Regions from separate parts of the Homo sapiens genome. Here regions 2, 3 and 4 are each linked to region 1. The links are contacts of gene promoters, found by promoter capture Hi-C in human tissues and cell types (Jung and others, 2019). All regions are on one chromosome and are shown on one strand. The core of a region is centred on a gene start or on the middle of the fragment in contact, and the rest is flanking DNA. Distances in the headings are between cores, read along the strand shown. Region 1 holds the start of AP1G2 (adaptor related protein complex 1 subunit gamma 2). Region 2 has its middle 20 kb from the start of DHRS4L2. Region 3 holds the start of LOC105370411 (a long non-coding RNA gene). Region 4 overlaps LINC00596 (long intergenic non-protein coding RNA 596).

Region 1 (3,604 bases), core at 533-3,032:
TCAATTCTTCTGTCCATAGACCTGAAGCAAAGGATGGGGGGCCCCACAGCCTTACCATGGTGACGCTCATGAAGCAGTTGGGCACAGGGTGGGAGGAAGACACTGGAGAGTTCAGGGACCTTCCGGATCATGTGCACTGCAGTCAGAATAGCCTGCAGAGGTCAGGGGCCTCAGACAGGGGTCAGAGGAGATGGACCCCTGCATCTACTACTATATAGCACGCAGCAGGCAGTGTGCAGGAGCACGTGCCAGGAGTCCCGCCATCTCACCTTCTTGCGCACGTAGGGACTGGGCTGCAGGAGCAGTTTCTCCACCTCTGGGGCCAGGTCTCGGCACATCTCAGCAGAGCCCATGGTGCTCAAAGTGCACAAGGCCAGGCCTTGTACTGGCTGAATCCCCTGGCTCAGGTCACTGCAGGGTTTGGGAGGACGGTCAGTCAAACCTCTGAGAAAATCAGTCCTTTTCAATACCCACAACAGGCAGTCCCCTGGGATTTCCAAGGTCCCTACTCTCCCATCTCCCTGATTCCAAGTGATTGCCAGAACCCTCTCACTTCTTGATGCTGTTGGTAATGAGCAGGTGGGCATCGTGCCTCTCATCCAATAGAAGCATGGCCCCCAGGTAGCCCACCCTCTTGTCTGTGAATCTGGAGGAGGCGATCAGTTTCAGGCACTCCATCTATAGTGAAGGGGGCAGACCAGGAAGAGGCAGGGGTGAAACCATAGACACTCACATCCCTGTTCCATCTTCCTCTTTAAAACCAGATTAACCTGTGGGGCATCATATCTCATCACTCTCCCTTCAACAAGAGGAGAAGCTTAGGAAATTCAGGCGTTAGTGGGTAGGAGGAACTAGGAGTTGAGGAGGATGGGAGCGGAGAGGAGGAGATGCCTGCCCTAAAGGAGGCTGGCCAGAGAATGAAGGGTTCAGGCCAGCTGATGACCAGTAGGGGTAGCAATGGGGAAAGAGGTTTGCAGTGCAGGCTGTGAAGACTCTGAAATTGTAGAATTTAAAAAACCAGGGCATAAACAGGTGAGAGAGTCTGGGACTCTGCCCCACTAGCCTTCATCAAGCTCAGGAGGGAGGTATTCCTGGCCAGTACCTGTCCAAAGTGGGCGGGGTAGCCCAACATGTGGACGTAGAGCAGTTTGGCCAGCTGCCGGTGCCTGTGCACTGGGTCCCCGTCGCGGAAGGAGGCCCGGATGTGGGCACACTCCTTTTGGATCACCTCCCGCTCCTGGGCCTGAGTCTTGGCCCCGCGAATCTCTTCGATGAGGTCCTGAAGCTTCAGCGAAGGCACCACCATCCTGACTGGCAGAGTCCGGGAGTGGAGAAACACTCTCTGGTCGGGCGTGCCTGGGCTTTCGGCCCAGGCCCGTCCTGTGTCAAGACCCTAAGAGCCCGGGTCCCACAGGTACCCTAAAATTGCGCCCGCATTTTACCTTTCCCGAAGTGGGTCTCCAAATTCCGCGCCCACCCCACCGCCCGAGAAGCCCACTACGCATGCGTCCGCACCCCACCGGCGCCCCTTCCTATTGAGCATGCGCGGGAGCCCCACCTATTTCTCTCTACCGTTTCCTCCCCCTACCTGGTACCCCATCCCTAGCTCAGCCATTGCTTTTTTTTCCACGACCCTCCGCTGTTTCTTCCGCGAGCTTCCTCCCCCGATTTCCATCTCAGGCAGCGGCAGCGGCAGCGACAGCCTGCCTACCCCAGGACTCCAGCCTCACCTGGCTTCTGCCTCAACTCCGCTCCTCTGCCCCCCAGCGCTTCCTGGTACGGGGCCGAGCAGGGGTTGGTGCTCCGTGCGGTCCTTCCCTCTCCCCGCCTCCACCACGGGACCCCGCCCTCCTGGGCCGACTGCAGAGCCTTCCTGAATCCTCTGACCTCGGGCCTCAGGCTTTAGCGGAGAGACAGCATGATAGGCCTGGAGTTCTTCAAGAGGCCTCCTCGCACATCCTTACCACCCGGAGAGCCTCAGTTTGGATTTGAAGCCATCGCACCCCAAAGGAGATGACAATCCCCCCCCTTTTTTGAACTTTTTTATTAATATATTTTTTTTGTTAAATTTCTTTGTATTTTTTTCCTGCAAGACTTGGTGTTGGCGGCACTGTTGTAGTTTAACTTCAATCCCAAATTCCATGAAATAGAAATCAGAAGTAAAGGTTGAGAGGGGAGGAAGGAGGGAGGCAAGCCAAGGAATAAACAAGAGTTTGACTAGAAAAAAAGAAGAGGGTATGTGTGGTGGGCATTCCTGGGCAAGGCCATTCCTTGAGGGAGGGGGTTGGCAGGCAGCTTGCCTCTGCCTCATGCAGGGGAGGGAGGAAAGATCCCCTGGGGACCCTGCAGTCCCCTCTTCCTAGGGCTTCCTGCTCCCAGGGGAAAAACTAATACCAGAGAGGGATCAGCCACAACCTCAAACAGGGCTCTCCACCCACCTGTCACCCGGGTTTGACTCCCACCTCTGCCCTGCCTGGGAAGCATGTGAGATCAGCTATCTTTGATCCCCTCCTTCTGTTGTTTTCCCATTTCACAAGATTCTGATGTAAAGGGGGAAGGGATATAACCCATTTTGGGACTACTAAACTTGTCACAGCTTCTGCTTCCATGTGAGCTCCTGTTATCTTGTCTGGTCCTATCCCCCAGAAGTGCCTCCTCCCACCACAACTCCCAGAGTTGGGATGTGGGGGCCTTGCTCAAGTGCCTCTAACCCTCTGCAGTAGAAATGTCTTCTTCAGGCCCCTTAGGAATTTAATCAAAGGCCACAAGTGAGTCCAGACCAACCAAATAAACTATTATGGGGGAGACAGAAGGGTGGGAGAAGTCAGTGGCAAAGTCTGGGCAGGGTGGACTTGACTGCATTGGATATTCTCTGTTCCTTTACACGTTGCTCTTGGCATGGCATGCCACCAGAGGGGGCTGGAGGAGGGGCTGGCCGATGAGGAGAAAAAGAGGGAAATGCTGGGGAGTTACTCTACTTTTCACTTCCCTTCTCTCCTTCAGGGAAGGATGGAATTGGGCAGTAACCCAGCTCAGTGCTTGGAGGTAAGATAATAGCCTCCAAGATTAGAGGTGGAGGATGCACCTCCTGCAGCTTTTTCACTAGGCCTCAGAGGGACAGCAGGCCCCTTAGGCTAGGGAGCCACAGCAGCTCAGCCAGTGCCTTGCCCGACATTCAATCACTCCTTCTTCATTTTCTTCCTCCTCTCCATTCAGCTTCCAGGAGTCTCCTTAGGACACCAAACCCCCACCCGCAGCGAAGTTGAGGTCTAAAGAAAAGGTGGGAGGGCGTGGAGCAATGGTCTGACTTAGATTTGTGTGTCTCAGAGAAGACAGCAACTCTGAGAGAGAAAAGCCCTTCATATGTAAACAATCTAGAGAAAGAAGGGGTTGGGATGGGGAAGGGAGTGAGGAATACAGAGACAGATCCAGAAGAAATGAGATAATCTGAAAGAAGACAGGGAAAGAAAAAGCGAGAGAAAAAAACAAAGGAGCACAGAAAAGAAAGGAAGAAGAGAAAGAAAGATAGGAGAAAACACAGCCAGGAAGAGGAGAAGAGAAAAAAGGCAGGTCAAAGGGGTGAAGAGGCACGCAACCAAAGCCA
Region 2 (3,604 bases), core at 704-3,203, 440 kb after region 1:
GCTGCAGGGAAGCTCTAACTGGGCGGAACCCACCGCAGCTCAGCAAGGCCTACTGCCTCTCCAGATTCCACCTCAGGGGCCAGGGCATATCTGAGCAAAAGGCAGCAGACAGCTTCTGCAGACTTCAGTGTCCTTGCCTGACATCTCTAAAGACAGCAGTGGTTCTCCCAGCACGGAGTTCGTGCTCCGATAACGGACAGACTGCCTCCCCAAGTGGGTCCCTGACCCCCATGTAGCTTGACTGAAAAACACCGCCCAGTAGGGGCAGAGAGACACCTCATACAGGTGGGTGCCCCTGTGGAACAAAGCTTCCAGAAGAAGGATCAGGCAGCAATATTTGCTGTTCTGCAGCCTCCTCTACTGATACCCAAGAAAATAAGGTCTGGAATGGACTTCCAGCAAACCCCCAAAGACCTGCAGCTGAGGGGCCTGTTAGAAGGAAAACTAACAAACAGAAAGGAATAGCATCAACATCAGCAAAGGACAGCATCAACATCAGAACAGGAAAGGACATCCACACTAAAACCCCATCCATAGGTCACCAACATCAAAGACCAAAGGTAGATAAAACCACAAAGATGGAGAGAAACCAGAGCAAAAAGGCTGAAACTTCCAGAAATCAGAACGTCTCTTCTCTTCCAAAGGAATACAAGTCCTCACCAGCAAGGGAACAAAACTGGATGGAGAATAAGTTTGATGACTTGACAGACGTAAGCTTCAGAAGGTCAGTAATAACAAACTACACCCAGCTAAAGGAGCATGTTCTAACCCATTGCAAGGAAGCTAAAAACCTTGACAAAATGTTAAACGAATGGCTAACTAGAATGAAGAATCTAGAGAAGAGCTTAAATGACCTGATGGAGCTGATAACCACAGTACAAGAACTTCATGAAGGATACACAAGCTTCAATAGCTGATTCAATCAAGTGGAAGAAAGGATATCAGTGATTGAATATAAAATTAATGAAATAAAGTGAGAACACAAGATTAGAGACAAGAAAAGAAAAAAGAAACATTCAAATTCAGGAAATACAGAGAACATCACAAAGACACTCCTTGAGAAGAGCAACCCCAAGACACATAATTGTCAGATTCAGCAAGGTTAAGGGCAGCCAGAGAGAAAGGTTGGGTTACCAACAAAGGGAAGCCCATCAGACTAACAGCAGATCTCTCAGCAGAAACCATACAAACCAGAAGAGAGTCGGGACCAATATTCAACATTCTGAAAGAAAAGATTTTTGGAACTAGAATTTCATATCCAGCCAAACTAAGCTTCGTAAGTGAAGGAGAAATAAAATCCTTTACAGACAAGCAGATGCTGAGAGAGTTTGTCACCACCAGGCCTGCCTTACAATAAGAGCTCCTGAAGGAAGCACTAAACATGGAAAGGAACAACCAGTACCAGCCACTGCAAAAACATACGAAATTGTAAAGACCATTGATGCTATGAAGAAACTGCATCAATTAATGGGCAAAATAACCAGCTAACGTCATGACAGGATCAAATTCACATATAACAATACTAACCTTCAATGTAAATGGGATAAATGCCCCAATTAAAAGACACTGACTGGCAAATTGGATAAAGAATCAAGACCCATATGGTGTGCTGTATTCAGGAGACCCAATCTCACGTGCAAAGACACACATAGGCTCAAAATGAAGGTGTGTCTGGAATTGGTGGGTTCTTGGTCTCACTGACTTCAAGAATGAAGCCACGGACCCTCGCAGTGAGTGTTACAGTCCTTAAAGGCAGCGTGTCCGGAGTTTGTTCCTTCTGATGTTCAGACACGTTCAGAGTTTTTTCCTTCTGGTGGGTTCGTGGTCTCGCTGGCTTCAGGAGTGAAGCTGCGGACCTTCACAGTGAGTGTTACAGCTCTTAAGGCGGCATGTCTGGAGTTGTTCGTTCCTCCCATCCGGAGTTGTTCATTCCTCCCACTGGGTTCGTGGCCTCACTGGCCTCAGGAGTGAAGCTGCAGACCTTCACGATGAGTGTTACAGCTCATAAAGGCCGTGTGGACCCAAAGAGTGAGGGGCAGCAAGATTTATTGCAAAGAGCGAAAGAACAAAGCTTCCACAGTGTGGAAGGGGACCCAAGCAGGTTGCTACTGTTTGAAGGGGTGGCTTGCCCCTCCACACCTGTGGGTATTTCTAGTCAGGTGGGACGAGAGACTGAGAAAGAGAAATAAGACACAGAGACAAAGTATAGAGAAACAACAGTGAGCCCAGGGGACCGGCGCTCAGCATACCAAGGACTTGCACCGGCACCGGTCTCTGAGTTCCCTCAGTTTTTATTGATTATTATCGTCATTATTTCAGTAAAAAGGAATGTAGTAGGAGGGCAGGGTGATAATAAGGAGAAGGTCAGCAACAAACGTGAGCAATAGAATCTAATAATTCAGTTCAAGGGAAGGTACTATGACTGGACATGCACGTAAGCCAGATTTATGTTTCTCTCCACCCAAACATCTCGGTGGAGTAAAGAATAACGAGGCAGCATTGCTGCAAACATGTCTCGCCTCCCACCATAGGGCGGTTTTTCTCTCATCTCAGAACTGAACAAATGTACAATCGGGATTTATACCGAGACTTTTAGTTCCCAGGAGCAGGCAGGAGACAGTGGCCTTCCTCTATCTCAACTGCAAGAGGCCTTCCTTTTTTACTAACCCACCGCAGCACAGACCCTTTATGGGTGTCGGGCTGGGGGACAGTCAGGTCTTTCTCATCCCAGGAGGCCATATTTCAGACTATCACATGGGGAGAAACCTTGGACAATACCCTGCTTTCAAGGGCAGAGGTCCCTGCGGCTTTCTGCAGTGCACTGTGCCCCTGGTTTATTGAGACTAGAGAATGGCGATGACTTTTACCAAGTATACTGCTTGTAAACATTTTGTTAACAAGGCACGTCCTACACAGTCCTAGATCCCTTAAACCTTGATTTCATACAACACATGTTCTTGTGAGCTCCAGGTTGGGTCAAAGTGGTTGGGTCAAAGTGGCTGGGGCAAAGCTAAAAATTAACAACATCTCAGAAAAGCAATTATTTAAAGTACAGGTCTTTTTCAAAATGTAGTCTCTTATGTCTTCCCTTTCTACATAGACACGGTAACAGTCTGATCTCTCTTTCTTTTCCCTACATATCCCCCTTTTCTTTTTGACAAAACTGTCATTGTCACCATGGCCTGTTTTTGCTGGTCACTGTCTTTCTGGAACTGCTGGATACACCTGTAGACTAACAATAGAGAGGGCAGACATACAAGGATTAATACAAAATTTGCAATAGTGGAATTTCCAATGGTTTTAACCCAAGTGATGGGGGCAAGAGGACAGTGTGGGTGCTCCGGCACCCAGGCAGTCTCCCTTCTCCTTTGTCTCTTAGTTGTTGTTTCTCATAGTTTTCAATCTTTCTCCTCACCTGCTCACTCGCACTTTTTGTTTCATTGTCTCCCTTCTCTTATGGTCTCTCTCTCTTTTTCTCTTTTTCTTCCTTTTACACTATTTCTTTTCCCAGTCTCACTTTCTGTGTCTCTCTCTGATCTCTGTCTTTCTCTTTTACATTATTTTTTTCCCCAGTCTCACCTTCTGTGTCTTTCTCTGATCTCTG
Region 3 (3,604 bases), core at 804-3,303, 360 kb after region 1:
ACAATTGTAAATATCAGTATAACAATCTATAATTTTTTCTTCTTTGAATTATTGCTTTAGGACAAGTTCCCGGAGTGGTAGTATTGAATCTAAGGAATGTTTCATGTCACATTTAGCCAAATAACTCTCTTAGAAAGGTCAGAGCAGTTGTAATTCCTCATACAGGTATAAGGACACATCTTACTTTTGTTCCATCAAATACAATAATTATACTTATCAACAAAAAATGCTTCCTCATGATGTTCTGTTTATATATTTCTGTAATAAATAAATAACTCAGGTCAATGTCTTCTCTTTAGGTTTCTGTGTTTAATGCAGACTTCTGTTAGAAGCAGTCCTCAGAGCCTGTTGGAATAATGTGAGTGAGTGACTGGTTGGATTTCTAGGACCTCAAAGAGCTTTTAGTTCTTTGTCGCGCCCCACATGAAAGGCAGTTTGGCAAGGTCAAGTATGGTGGGGATGCATTCTCTCTCTCTCTCTCTCTCTCTCTCTCTCTCTCTCTCTCTCTCTCTCTCTCATCCTTGGTAACATTGTTTCATATCCACTGAGCTCTTTTTATGTTACTAGAAAATCCAATCGTGTTTCCAATGTATATTCTTTTAAGAGATCTTCTCTTTTTGCATGTCATCAAAGATGTATTTCCCTTATTATTTAAAATATATATAAGACCCCTCCCACTTTGGAGAGCAGGACCTGGACTTGAACTTGGACTCTTCACTTACTAGTTATATCCCTTGGGCAAATCACTCAGTTTCTTGGAGGTTAATTTCTATCTGTAAGATGGGAGATTAATAATATCTGTCTACCTCACATTGTTGTAAAAATCAAATGAAAAGATGTATAAGTGTGAGAACTGTTTCCTAAATGTTCGTAACTATTCTGTTAGACCATGTAACTCTTCTCTATTTCAAGTCTAATCTCTTATTGATTCTGGAATAAAGTATTCCTGCATCTTTAGTTATTGATTTAGGACCTTTTCTTTCTTTGGCTTACTCAGGAAGTCTAACTATTCAGAAATTGCAATACTCAGATCTATTCCCCAGATCTGCCCTCCTGAAGTGTTTCATTTCTTAATTTAGTTTCTTTAAATTCTGGATCTATTGCTCAGGTTTCTTTACTGATTTAAGTGCCATTTCTGCTTTGTGCAGTTTAAACATGATTTTCAATGTGTCTTTTGCAATAATCATTACTTTCATTCTTTTTTATTCTGACTTTCACTAGGGAGGATGTAATGTCCACTTGATTTCTTTGAAAAGAGGCTCCAGCCATTTTCTGAATTCTGTGTATGGTTCCCTGTGGTTGTTTCTTTCTTTGGGATTAATTAAAATAAAGTTTTTTGTGTGGGCTCATTGGGTGTTTTTTGAAACTTTTTTAGAAAACCCACATTGATTTTTTTTCAGTTTAGTGCATTCTCCCTTAAGTTACTTCAGTGACTGGTCTTTGCTGTACTGCTGAAAATTCTTTAGTAACATTTTTCAATTAATTTTAAGAGAATTTGCAATTAGGAGTTTGACTGGTTTTCTACTCACTCCAATATTTTCCCGGATAATTTTTTTCTACCATGTCAGGCCTTTCTATCTTCTGATTCAATGGAGTCTGGAAAGAATCCAAAGTCTAATTATGGGATTAGAACAAGAAAGCCAAGTACTTTCAATGGAAAACTGAAAAATGCCTTTTTGTGCTTTGTTGCTGCTGTTAAGGCTCAGGCTGAGTCTAAGAAAAGGGAAGAAAGATTGGAATACTGAAATAAAATCTTACCAAAAACGCTTTAATAACCTTACATATTAGCTGCATTCCTAAAGGCTCTGAACCTTCCAGGCATCTCGCAAGCGGCAAGGGCCGCATTCATTTCTTTGGCTATAAATGAAGGGATGCTAAATTATTTCCAAGGTCACTTTTCCATCTCTGAATTTCTACAACATTAAATAATGTTTAAGCTGCGAGTTCAGGCATGAATTAATGTAACCAGAATTATTCCCACTTCTTGCTACCCTGCCCACAAAATGCACACACACACACCCCCACTTTGATTTCCCGATTTTTAAATTGTTCAAATCAATTGTTATGAAACATAAAATGAAGCCGGGAGAGAGAAAATGAGGGAACCGAATACAAAATTCCTCCCTTCTGGAATCAGGGCAGCCTCTGCACCCCCAGATCTCCTCCAACACATGAGGTACTTAAGAGGAGACCCCTCAAGGCAGCACCCTGCCAAGGCATGGTTGAGTCACCAAATCTCAGCCGTTTGGACTGTGAGGGGAGACCCTGCAGCCCTCTGGTGGACAAAAGTGGCATTACAGCCTTCTCTGCATCCAAAAGGTCACAGCCCATCTGAGATGGAAGCGTGATGGATCTATCTGCAAGCGTGACCTGAAATCCTAACCAAGGGCCAACCTGCCCAGGACAGGCTGGATCTTTGCCTCAGAAATGGTGCTTTTGTCATTTTGAGAAACATTATCCCTGCAGATTTCAGATTTGAAACTCAAGAAGGCTATGGTGGATTTCAAATAGGGTAATGTTAAATGGCCTACATTTTTACTAGTATTGTGGGCACTCCTACCAGAAGAAAAATTTTTTAATTCCATATAATTCAGAATGAAGTTAATCAGAATGAAGTTGTTCCCCACTCCTTTCTTGTGTCCTTCCAGCCCTCAGGATGGTAGCAGCTTCCGCTGCCACTAATATGTGGTTGTTTCACCAGCCCATTTGGCTTCTCAGCCCAGTCCAACGTGTAACCAATTTCCTGTTTTAAATTCCCTCTTTGAAATGCCTACAATGATTTTGTTGTGCTTGGCAATAGGAATATGGCAGTGACCAAGACAGACTTCGTTCCAGATCTTATGGAGCTCATAGTCTAGCTCAGGAAAATAAATATTAAATAAGCACTCATTCAGTTAATAATTATTTCAAAAAGGAAGTACATGAGAATGCATAGCAGAGGAACTTAACCTGGAATAAGGATAAATTTTGTAGTTCCACAGGTGACACTAGAAGCTAGAAACTCTAGGCCAGCAGGACTTTACACAGAGACAGTCCCACAGCTATGATGGAAGCACAGAAAGTTGTGATGTTGCCTCTCCTCCTCCCTGGGTCCAGCAGGGAAGAAAGGAAGGGTTCCTAGCCAAAGGCGGAAGTGGAGGATTTCAGGCAGGATTCAGTGCACAGTAGTGACAGAGAAGCAAGGATGGAGTTCTTCTGACAGCCTGCAGGCACCCAAGAAAACTTGGCTCTGCTAGATCTGGCCAGGAAAGAAACCAAAATCTTGAAGGAATGTGTCATCGCCCTGGCAACCTCCAAGCCACGGGAGTCAGACAATGTCCAGACCAAGCCTGACTCAAAAAATGCTTTCCCAAAGATTTAACCTATAATATCACAATATTTCCCCAGTCTCCTCCTGACCAGCATCATATGATAGGGTACGAGGATGGGAGAACCAGCCTGCTGCTGTGCTCTCTTGTCCCAACAGGTGTCTGCTCCTGTCTTGATGAGCTCAAAACATCCTTATCTTCTCTACCTGTCAATACTGATGAACACCAGATTACTCAACACCCTGATGCGCCATGCCAAATCCTAACAACTCTCAATTTATATCAGATGGGATAGG
Region 4 (3,604 bases), core at 549-3,048, 320 kb after region 1:
TGTCACAGGTGAATTCTACCAAACATTAAAAGAAGAATTAATGCCAATCCTACTCAAAATTGTCCAAAAAATTGAAGAGGAAAAAACTCTTCCAAACTCATTTTATAAGACCAGCAATACTCTGACACCAAAGCCAGATAAAAACACTGTAAGAAAATAAAATTTCAGACCCATATCCCTGATGAACATAGATGTAAAAATACTCAACAAAATGCTAGCAAACCACATTGAACAGCCTACTAAAATGATCATTTACCATGATCAAGAAGGATTTATCCTTGGGATGTGAGAATGGTTCAACACATACAATCAACAAATGTGATACACTATGTTAATAGAATGAAAACTAAAAATCATATGATCACATCAATAAATGCAAAAAAAATGCATTTGATGAAACACAACATCCTTTCATGGTAAAAACTATTAACAAATTAGGTATAGAGGGAATGTGCCTCAACATACCAAAGGCCATATATGACAAGCCCACAGCTAGTATCATACTCAACAGTGAAAAGTCAAAAGCTTTTCTGCTAAGATTAGGAATAAGACAAAGATGCCCACTCTCATCATTTCCATTCAACGTAGTACTGTAAGTCCTAGCCAAGCAATGAAGAAGGAAGGAAGGAAGGAAGGAAGGAAGGAAGGAAGGAAGGAAGGAGATAGAAAGGAAGAAAGAAAGAAAAGGAAGAGGAGGAGGAGGAAAGGGAGGAGGAGGAGGAAATGAAGGAAGGAAGGAAGGAATCAAAATAGGAAAGGAAGAAGTAAAATTGTCTCTGTTTGAAGATGACATGATTTTATATAAGAAAACTCTAAAGACTCCACCAATAAACTATTAAGACTAATCAACAAATTCAGTAAAATTGCAGCTACAGAATCAACACCAAAAAAATTAGTTGCATTTCTATACACTAACAATGAAATATCTGAAAAAGAAATAAAGAAAATAATTCCATTTATAATAGCATCGAAAACAATAAAATACCTAGGAATAAATTTAACCAAGGAGGTGAAAGACTTGTACACTGGAAACTATAAGATACTGATGAAAGAAATTGAAGAATATACAAATAAATGGAAAGATATTCCATGTTCATGGATTGGAAAAATTAGTATTGTGAAAATATTCACGCTACCCAAAGCAATCTACAAATTCAATCAAATTCCTGTCAAAATTCCAATTGCATTCTTCACAGAAATAGAAAGGACAATTTTAAAATTCGTATGGAACTACAAAAGACCCCAAATAGCTACAGTAATCTTGAGAAAGAAGAGCAAAGCTATAGGCATCACATTTCCTGATTTCAAAGTATATTACAAAAGCATTGTAATCAAAACAGTATGGTACTGACATAAAAACAGATAAATAGATCAATAGAACAGAATCAAGACCCCAGAAATAAACCCACACATATACAATCAGTTAATATTTGACAAAGGTACTAAGAACACACAATGGGGAAAGGATCATCTCTTCAATAAATGGTGCTGGGAAAACTGAATGTCCACATGCAAAAGAATAAAATTGGGCCTTTATCTTACACCACTCACAAAAATTAACTTGATTTGAATTAAAGACTTTTAAATGTAAGATCTGAAACCATAACAATTCTAGAAAAAAATAGAAAAAAAAGTTGCTTGGCATTAGTCATTGCAATTACTTTTTGGATATGACACCAAAAGCAAAAGTAACCAAAGCAAAATAAATAAGTAACTACATCAAGCTAAAAAGTTTCTGCACAAAAAAAAGAACAATAAAACAAAAAGGCAACTTACCGAATGGGTGAAAATGTTTGTAAGCCATATATCTGATAAGGGATTAATATCTAAAATATACAAAGAAGTCATACAACCTAATAACAAAAACTTATAATCCAATTTTAAAATGGGCAAAGAACCTGAATAGATATTTCTCCAAATAATGCATACAAGTGGCTAACAGCTACATGAACAGGTGCTCAACATCTCTAATCACCAAGGAAATGTAAATAAAAACCACAATGAGATGTCACCTCTCATGTCAGGATGACTGTTATCAAAATAGACAAAAGATATATGTTAGTAAGGATGGAGAGAAACAGGTACACTATTAGTGGAAATGTAAATTGATATGGCCATTATGGAAAACAGTATGGAGTTTCCTCAAAAATTAAAGCTAGAATAACCATATGATCTAGCAATCTCACTTCTGAGTATATATGCAATGGAAACGAAATCAGTAGCTCGATGAAATACCCGCCCTCCCATGTTCATTTCAGCATTACTCACAATAGCCAAGACTTGGAAACTACTAAGTGTCAATCGATGGATAAATGCATAAAGAAATTGTGGTGTGTGTTTATATATATGTGAGTGTGTGTGTATGACAAATATTCAGCCATTAAAAAAGGAAACACTACCATTTGTGACAACATGAATCAACCTGAAGGACAACATGTTTAATGAAATAAATGATACAGAAAGACATATACTGTATGATCTCACTTATATGTGGAGTCTAAAAGAGTTGAACTTATAGAAACAGAGAGTAGAATAATGGTTGCCAGCGATGGGGGTTAAGGAGACATAGGGAGATGTTGATCGAAGAGGACAAACCTTCAGTCATAAGATAAACAAGTTCTGGAGAGTTAAAATACAGCATGGGTGGTGACAGATGTGTTAATTTGATTTTGATAATTATTACACAATGCATTTATATATAAAATCGTCACATTGTACACTTCGAATGTGAGATACACAATCTAAATTGTCAATTAAATATTTGAAAATAAGAGAAGAAAAAATGATTGAAAAAAATCAGCTGTTGAACTTTGCAGTTTGGGTGATACTGAGGTTTTCCAGTGAAGGGCAGTGACAGAGCAGCCACGTTGGCAATTTTTTTAGAAAGCTTTCTGTCCTGTGCGGCAGTGAGATGCAGAACTGTGGTCATTTGGTTGCATCCGTTCTCAATATTTAATGTAAGATAAAAGAGGGTATTGATAAATGGCAAGCACTGCATTGCACAAAAGGAGGGAGGGTAGGCTGCCGATGTCAGTATATCCCCCTGGATTTTCCTCCCTAACCTTCCCTGATAAACAACTGACTCCCTGACAGTAGTGAACATGCTCGACAGGGGCAATAGAAAATCAGGAGCAAACTTTCATGCCCAGCAGCTGCCCCACAAGAGCTTTACTCTTCTAAATGTTAAAAAAATTTGAATTATGTAAGCTAGAAGTGAATGTACTGTGAACTTCTTTCAATTTCTTGTAATTCTCTCGCTGACAAGATTTATGGGAAAGAACTGCAGTCATCTAGATCACTTCAGTGCACTAATACAAAAAGTTGTGCTAGGAACTAAATTTTGTGTGCCCCCAAAATTCATATGTGAAAGCTCTAATCCCCAATGTGATGGTATTTAGAGGTGGGACCTTTGGGAGATAATTAAGTCATGAAGGTGGAGCTCTCATGAATGGGATTACTGCCCTTATAAGAAAAGACACAAGCTGGCTGGGTGCAGTGGCTCATGCCTGTAATCCTAGCACTTTGGGAGGCCGAGGCAGGAGGATCACTTGAGCTCAGGGGCTCAAGACCAGCCTGGGCAACATAGTGAGACCCTATTTCTATT

The links. Contacts are between HindIII fragments. The study calls those that stand out against the background at their distance.
Region 2: a contact is called between a fragment that was not itself captured here and the fragment with the promoter of AP1G2 in region 1, in 3 of the 25 tissues and cell types used here (dorsolateral prefrontal cortex, lymphoblastoid cells and spleen).
Region 3: a contact is called between a fragment that was not itself captured here and the fragment with the promoter of AP1G2 in region 1, in 1 of the 25 tissues and cell types used here (stomach).
Region 4: a contact is called between a fragment that was not itself captured here and the fragment with the promoter of AP1G2 in region 1, in 1 of the 25 tissues and cell types used here (lymphoblastoid cells).

Annotation. Positions count from the first base shown.
Region 1 is chr14:23,566,009-23,569,612 of GRCh38, forward strand. AP1G2 (adaptor related protein complex 1 subunit gamma 2) reads right to left here and starts at 1,783. Exons shown (of 22, transcript NM_003917.5): 1 at 1,731-1,783; 2 at 1,103-1,311; 3 at 554-678; 4 at 270-411; 5 at 56-152. The coding sequence starts at 1,306. JPH4 (junctophilin 4) reads right to left here. Exons shown (of 6, transcript NM_001146028.2): 6 at 2,030-3,604. AP1G2-AS1 (AP1G2 antisense RNA 1) reads left to right here. Exons shown (of 4, transcript NR_110555.1): 3 at 1-1,414; 4 at 1,681-2,068. RefSeq lists enhancers at 996-1,085, 1,116-1,355 and silencers at 1,836-1,885, 2,875-2,974. The HindIII fragment of the contact is 7,450 bases long and covers 1,052-3,604 here.
Region 2 is chr14:24,007,583-24,011,186 of GRCh38, forward strand. It overlaps the pseudogene DHRS4L1. Among named protein-coding and RNA genes, the nearest start is that of DHRS4L2, 20 kb to the left of the region's middle. The HindIII fragment of the contact is 5,422 bases long and covers 1-3,604 here.
Region 3 is chr14:23,927,677-23,931,280 of GRCh38, forward strand. It overlaps LOC105370411 (a long non-coding RNA gene), which reads right to left and starts at 2,338. Exons shown (of 2, transcript XR_943618.2): 1 at 1,530-2,338; 2 at 238-345. It also overlaps a transcript of LINC00596 not described here. The HindIII fragment of the contact is 9,325 bases long and covers 1-3,604 here.
Region 4 is chr14:23,887,021-23,890,624 of GRCh38, forward strand. The region is part of intron 2 of LINC00596 (long intergenic non-protein coding RNA 596); the gene reads right to left. Among named protein-coding and RNA genes, the nearest start is that of LINC00596, 14 kb to the right of the region's middle. The HindIII fragment of the contact is 5,012 bases long and covers 1-3,604 here.